Regions from separate parts of the Homo sapiens genome. Here region 2 is linked to region 1. The links are contacts of gene promoters, found by promoter capture Hi-C in human tissues and cell types (Jung and others, 2019). All regions are on one chromosome and are shown on one strand. The core of a region is centred on a gene start or on the middle of the fragment in contact, and the rest is flanking DNA. Distances in the headings are between cores, read along the strand shown. Region 1 holds the start of FOXS1 (forkhead box S1). Region 2 overlaps TM9SF4 (transmembrane 9 superfamily member 4).

Region 1 (3,536 bases), core at 876-3,375:
GGTCAGGGCTCAGTCACTTCTGAATGGTACCTAGGACAGTCACAGCCCATGCTGCTGGCCCCAAGAAATGCCGTCTTAAAGAGTCACCAGAGGACCTCATGGAGCTGGGGGCTCAGGGAAGCTCCCACATTAATGTGGGAAGTCCAAACAGGGGGTAGGTGCTGCCTTTTGAACCCTAGGTGCCCTGTCTGCACAATGGGTAAAGGGTGCCTTTCTAGCCCTGGCCTTCCAGGATTGCAGCAAAGCCCTCCCACCTCTGGGGGCCACCACCAGCTCTGCCCTGACCCTCTTCTCCACCCTTATGTCCTCACTCAAGCTGCAGGTCAGAGGCTGGAGGGTAGAGCCACACAGATGTGGTTTTGATTTACCCTCTGCCACCCATTTGCCCTCTGGAGTTGGAGCTGGCGAGCCTGTTTCCACCACTGTAAACGGGGCCAACTTTCCAAATCACACAGGTGAGATGATACATACAAGCCCGGGACAGGATCAGTGTCACAAATTGTCAGGGTTATGATGACTGCACCTACGGGGGCTAAGTCCCAGCATCTGAGACTGGAGAATCAGTCCCTCAGGCCAGCCCAGTCTTGCCCCTGCCCAGTCTCTCCCTTGCCTGTATCCTCCTCTCCCTGCTCCCCATTCCCTACCTCCCCTTCCTCTCCCTTTCTAGGAAACTCCCTGAGAAAGTCCCCAGCAGGAGAAAACCTCATGTGAGATATTCCCACCAAGGGTCTCTGCCCCCGCTGCACAACCCCACAGCCACAGCCACCCCCACATACAAGCAGGCACCCTGGCCCTCAGCCCCCAGCCATCAGGCAAGCTGACCCTCATCATCACATGGCTTTATTGGCCCTGAGAGCCACAGAGTAAATCCCAAGAGGCCCTGCTTCCCCTCACCCCCAAGTTTGTCCGGAGGCCCCAGGGGCCTGGCTGAGCACCGCTTCAATCCTGGCTTTCTGTGTGGTTGTCCTTGGCTCACCAGGGCTGGGTCCTTCGAGAGTTCTTCAGGTCCTAGAGCCAGGCTCAGCCCGGAGGGTGAGGGACCTGCAGGGACTGCCCGAGGTGAGGCTGCCTTTACTCAAAGAAGAACATTCCTGGCGTCCGGTATAGGCAGGGGGTCAGCCCCAATGGGTAGCCGGAGCCTCCCTGGACAGGGAAGCCACCTGCAACCCAGGGTTCCTTGTGGTCAGTTGGCAGGGGCAGTGGGGCCCGGAGTGAGCCTGGAGGGGTGGGTGGTGCAGGGGAGGGGGCTGCTGAGGCCAAGAGGTGCTCAAGGCCTGGGTCAGCCCCCATGCAAAAATTCAGTGCCTGCAGCCGACACTGGTAGCTGCTCCCGATGCCTGATTCCGGGGACAAGACGGGCGTAGGGGCCTTATTAAAACTCTCAGCCTCTGAGAAGCCGGCAGGAAAGCCAAACGCTGGGCATGAGGAAGATGAGGTGGCCACGGGGAGCTCCCCTGGGCATGCAGGCTTGGGCGTGGAAATCTCTTTGGGCTCCATGGGTGGCCGAGGCCTGCCATCAGTGGTTGCTGGGCACATACTGGCTGGCATGGCCCCCACCAGACCCCCAAAGCTTAGGCCCTTGGGATCTGGCAGCTCTGGTGGGAATGAGCACTGCCTGCCGGTCGTGGCGTTGGGGACTCCTGGGTCCTGGCTGGTCGCCCTGAGGGGTCCACGGCGTGCCTTGGCGGGGCCCCGGGTGCCCTCAGCACCTGTCTGCCGGGTGAAGCGGCGGCGGCGGCGTAGGAAGCTGCCGTGCTCAAACATGTCGTGGCAGTCAGGGTCCAGCGTCCAGTAGCTGCCCTTGCCTGGCTTGCGGTCATCGCGGGGCACCTTGACAAAGCACTCGTTGAGTGACAGGTTGTGGCGGATGCTGTTCTGCCAGCCGGGCCGGTTGTGGCGGTAGAAGGCGAATCGGCCCATGATGTAGCGGTAGATGCCACTGAGGGTGGCCCGCTGCCCCGGTGAGCTCTGGATGGCCATAGCAATAAGGGCGATGTAGCTGTAGGGAGGCTTGGTTGGCTCAGTTGTGGGGGCGCCAGGCCCGGGCAGAGGCTGCTGCTGCATGCTGGCCGGGCTGCCAGGCTGCTGGGACCTGCTGGGTCAGGCTCAGCTTCCAGGGCTGGCGTCCGGAATAGCCTGCCCAGGCTGGTTAAAAGGTCCACTGGCCCAGCCTCCCAGCCTGGAAAGGCAAAAAGGGGTGGGTCTGCTGAGCCATCCTCCCCTCCTCCCTCGCCCCACTCCCACAAGGCCCAAAAGAGGCGGGCAGGAGAGGCCAGTAGTGGGAAGCCGAGCAGCTGCCAGGGATGAGGAGTTGGGAAGGAAGGGACTGAGACCCTCAGCCCACGTGTGCTGGGTGGTGGTGGCTGGGGAGGGACAGGATGTGAAACTGAGCGGGACAGAGACAAAAACAAAATGAGACAGAGGCAGAAACATATGAAACAGAGACAGGGAAAAAAGAGATAGAGACAGAGAGAGGTAGAGACATCACAAGAGGGAGAAAGAGGGAGAGACAAAGATAAGACAGAGGCAGACACAACGGACAGAGACACCCAGAGCCTCTCAGACACTCACAGAGAGACACACAGACATACACGTACAGACACACAGAGACACACAGACATACACGTACAGACACACAGAGACACACAGACACAGACACACACACAGACACACACACACAGACATAAGCACACACACACATATACACAGAGACAGACACACACAGACACATAGGCATACACACAGACACACACACAAGCACATACACAGACACACAGAGACATACACACACAGAAACACAGAGACACAGACACAGACACACACACACACACACACACACACACACGTAGTATACGGAGAAAGTGAGAATCACTGAGCAGGCAGAAACAAGGAAATCCACAAAGCCAGAGAGAAAGGAGATACTGAGAGACACAGGTGCAAACACAAGGAGTGAAAGGAATGAATAGAGAGAGAGAGAGAGAGAGAGAGAGAGAGAGAGGAGAGAGAGGCAGGGCCTGAGCCCAGTCCCCCTAGAGTGAGAGAAGCCCCAGGGGCTTCTCTAATCCCTACCTCTACTCCTGCTTTTCCCTCTTCTCCCAGGCCTGTGGTCTACTGCCTTCTCCTGCGGTGCAGAGGCCTTGGGGCCACACCACTCCTACCCCATCCTCCTAGCTCTGGGGTGTCTGCAGGGAGGGGCACCTAGGATGGTAAGGAGAGCCCATGAAATTCAGTTCTGCTGCATCCCTGTCGCCCCCTAGTGACTGGTGTGGGAAGGACAGCTATCTGGGGAGAGACATTCTCCCTCCCAAGAGGCACCTCAAGACCTTGGCTGAGCCTCAGTTTCCCCATCTCTAACATGGAGCTGGTGACTCCTCAGCTGTCCAGGCCATGGTGGGGAGGCAACAGGTTCCCCTTACACAGAATGCAGCACCCTCATCAAGAGCCTAGTATGGAGTAGGGATATGAACATGGCTGCGGATTGTCACTCTGAACTGAGGCTACCCCAGCTGCAGCCTGGGGTCGGGAGGTCCAGAGAG
Region 2 (3,507 bases), core at 373-2,872, 270 kb after region 1:
TCTTTCATGTGTCTCTGTTCAACAGCTACTCTGTGTCTGTGGGCTCTGAAATAAAGGCTACATTTTCAGTTTCCTGTGGCTAATTTGTTTTTTGTTTGTTTGTTTGTTTGTTTCTTGCTCTGTGAGTTCTTTAGTTCCATGGGCCTGCTTGGTAAGTTGTCTCTAGCTGTCATTAGCCTTCATTCACATGCGGCTGGATTCTTGGTAAGCTTTAACTGACTGGATAATTGACTTCAGTTAACTGTTGGCAAACTGTGCCCAAAGCCTTTTTCTTTTTTTTTTTTTTCCTCCTTTTTCCTTTTTCTTTTTTTTTTTTTTTTTTTTTTTTTTGCTTAATCTGAGGGAGCAGTTACTGACATGGTCTCAAAATGGTGACTGTCGCCAGGCACAGTGGCTTACACCTGTAATCCCAGCACTTTGGGAAATGCCGAGGTCGGAGTGGGTCATTTGAGGTCAGGAGCTCAAGACCAGCCTGGCCAACATGGCGAAACCCTGTCTCTACAAAAATACAAAAAAATTGCCGGGTCTGGTGGCAGGCACCTGTCATCCCAGCCACTCAGGAGGCTGAGGCAGGAGAATCACTTGAACCCAGGAGGCGGAGGTTGCAGTGAGCCAAGATCATATCACTGCACTCTAGCCTGGGCAACAGAGCTAGACTCTGTCTCAAAAAAAAAAAAAAAAAAAAAAAGTGACTGTCTTTTAGAAAGAAAAAGAAGAATCTAGTCTATTGCTAAGGAAAATGCTGCTTTTGCAGTAGGAAAGGCATGGAACAGGAACCAAAAAGGCCGTTCAGATTGGCCAGATGTATTGCTGCTAGTTGATGCTATTTATGGGAAAGGAGATTGCAAGGCAGAGGGCTCCAGAAAAAGTTAACTTCTGGTTACAGAGAAATGCAAGTGAATGAAATAATTTTTCGTTCTCAGGGAAACTTCCTGTTTTCTTTGGAAGATGTTAATTGTTCACACCTTTCAAACTGGGTGGGGTGAATTTGGAGTGGCTGGGGGTACTTTTGAGTCCTAGCAGCCCTTCATTAGACAGCTGTTTGGGGGAGATATTTCTGAGTGCCCAACCCACCCCCGCCCCCCCAAGAATAAAACAGATGGGGAGGGAAAGACCTTGATTCTTGGTTCTCTTGAGCTTTATAACATTCCAGGTCACCTGTATCTTTGCCAGTGATGGCGTGTTAGATTACAGCACAAAAGGCTTCTAGATTGCCATCACCTTGTTCCTTGATATGCTGCCTTTGAGGTCTCTTTTGCTACTTGGAAACCAAGTAGCAAAAGCAAAATGACGTTGAATGGGCTGGTTCACATCTCTTAGGACTCTTTGCATGGCTCTGAACATGCAGAAGATGATTACTAAATATTTAATTGACTTTTCAGACTGAACCTCTCATGGGAGTTAATGAGGCAATCAATTAAAAATTAAAAGAAAATTTAAAGGAATTTCCTAAGAAGCAGGTACTTTGCTTTTTCCTTACAGAAAAGAACTGCAGGCCAAACATCCTCTATCAGGCTATCAGGAATATAGAAGGTGATGAAGTCATAGAATCATAAAAAGTTGGAACAGTGTCCAGGGGTTTTACCAGAAACCCATGAACTTCTAGTCCTTGATTCTCTGTGTATTGGAATATTTTTTCCGAGATCAGTATCTGTAGCTTTGATAAGTTTCTCAGAGGGATTTGTGACACCCTCCCCAAGATTAAAAATTGCTGATCTGTCTGCTTACCCACATACCTGGTGCCAGAATCCGCTCTGCATAATTCTTACCTTAGCCCACTTTCTGCACATCTTCTGTGGAACTCATCCCAGTATTTTCAGAGGCAACCCATTTCCTTCACTTCTTAAAATATAAATGAATATATGTCTTTAATTTTTTAATTTTTTTAGAGACAGGGTCTCACCCTGTCACCCAGGTTGGAGTGCAGTGGTGGAATCATAGCTCACTCTAACTGCAGCCGTCGGACTCCTGGGCTCAGGTGATCCTCCCACGTAATTATAGGTATTAGCTACTATGCCCAGCCTAAATGTATTTATTTTGTTGTATTTATTTATTTATTTATTTATTTATTTATTTATTTATTTATTTTTATTTTGAGACAAGGTCTCACTCTGTTGCCCAAGCTGGAGTGCAGTGGCGTGATTTCTGCTCACTGCAACCTCCACCTCCCAGGCTCAAGTGATCCTCCCACCTCAGCCTCCAGAGTAGCTGTGACTACAGGCAAGCACCACCATTCCTCATTAATTTTTTGTATTCTTTGTAGAGACGAGGTTTTGCTCAGGCTGGTCTCAAACTCTTGGGCTCAAGCGATCCACCTGCCTCGGCCTTACAAAGTGCTGGGATTATAGTCCTGAGCTACTCTGCCCGTAAATGTATTTATTTTTAATAAGGGTGATCCATGTATGTGGAAAAGAGTATTAAAAAGCTATAAAAGTATCAAAACATTATGTTGTGTGCCTACCATAAATATATTCAATTTTTACTTGTCAGTCTTTAAAAAGCTATAAAATGGATCAGGCGCAGTGGCTCACACCTGTAATCCCAGCATTTTGGGAGACTGTGTTGCTCATAAAGGAATACCTGAGGCTGAGTAATTTATAAAGAAAAGAGGTTTATTTGGCCAGATTTGGTGGCTCATGCTTGTAATGTCAGCACTTTGGGAAGCTGAGGCAGGTGGATCGCTTGAGCCCAGGAGTTCAAGACCATCCTGGGCAACATGATGAAACCCAGTCTCTATTAAAAATACAAAAATTAGGGCTGGGCACCGTGGCTCATGCCTGTAATCCCAGCACTTTGGGAGGCCGAGGCAAGCAGATTCTAGTGGGTGTGTGGTGGTACCTCACTGTGGTTTTGGTTTGCGTTTTCCTATTGACAAATGATATTAAATATATTTTATGCTTATTAGTCATTCATATATCTTCTTTGGTGAATTTCTGTACAAATCTCTTGTCCATTTTTAAATCGGATTGTCATTTTCTTATTAAGTGTTCTTTGTATATTCTGGATATAAGTTCCTTATCAGGTATGTGATTTGCAAAGAATTTTCCACTAGTCTTTGGCCCATCTTTTCATTTTCTTAGTGGTATCTTTGGAAGTGTAAAAGTTTTTAAATTTTTATGAAATTTAATTTATTATAATTTTTTTAATGGATTCTGGTTTTGGTGTTGTATCTAAGACATTTTTGCCTAACCCAAGATCACAATGATTTCTTATTTTTTCCGTATAGAGGTTTTTGAGTTTTAGCTTTTTTGTTTAGTTCTGTGATCCATTTTGACTTAATTTTTGTGTGTATGTTCTGAGGTTCCATGTGCATATGGCTACCCAGTGGTCCAAGCACTATGTTTTGAAAAGACTTATGTTTCTCTATTGAATTTGCCTTGTCAGCTTTGTTGAAAATCAATTTAGTATAAATGTAAAGATTTATTTATAGACTTTTAATTATTTTCCACTGATCTTTATGCATATTCTTACCACACTGTCTTGATATTGTAGCTTTATAATATGTTT

The links. The method cuts DNA at HindIII sites, captures the fragments that hold promoters and counts their contacts. A contact is called where the count stands out against the background at its distance.
Region 2: a contact is called between a fragment that was not itself captured here and the fragment with the promoter of FOXS1 in region 1, in 1 of the 25 tissues and cell types used here (aorta).

The regions. Positions count from the first base shown.
Region 1 is chr20:31,843,479-31,847,014 of GRCh38, forward strand. FOXS1 (forkhead box S1) reads right to left here and starts at 2,126. Exons shown (of 1, transcript NM_004118.4): 1 at 825-2,126. The coding sequence starts at 2,064. The coding sequence ends at 1,072. It also overlaps a transcript of DUSP15 not described here. RefSeq lists an enhancer at 1,510-2,067. The HindIII fragment of the contact is 12,044 bases long and covers 1-3,536 here.
Region 2 is chr20:32,116,559-32,120,065 of GRCh38, forward strand. All of the region lies in intron 1 of TM9SF4 (transmembrane 9 superfamily member 4), which reads left to right. Among named protein-coding and RNA genes, the nearest start is that of TM9SF4, 8.6 kb to the left of the region's middle. The HindIII fragment of the contact is 3,788 bases long and covers 1-3,507 here.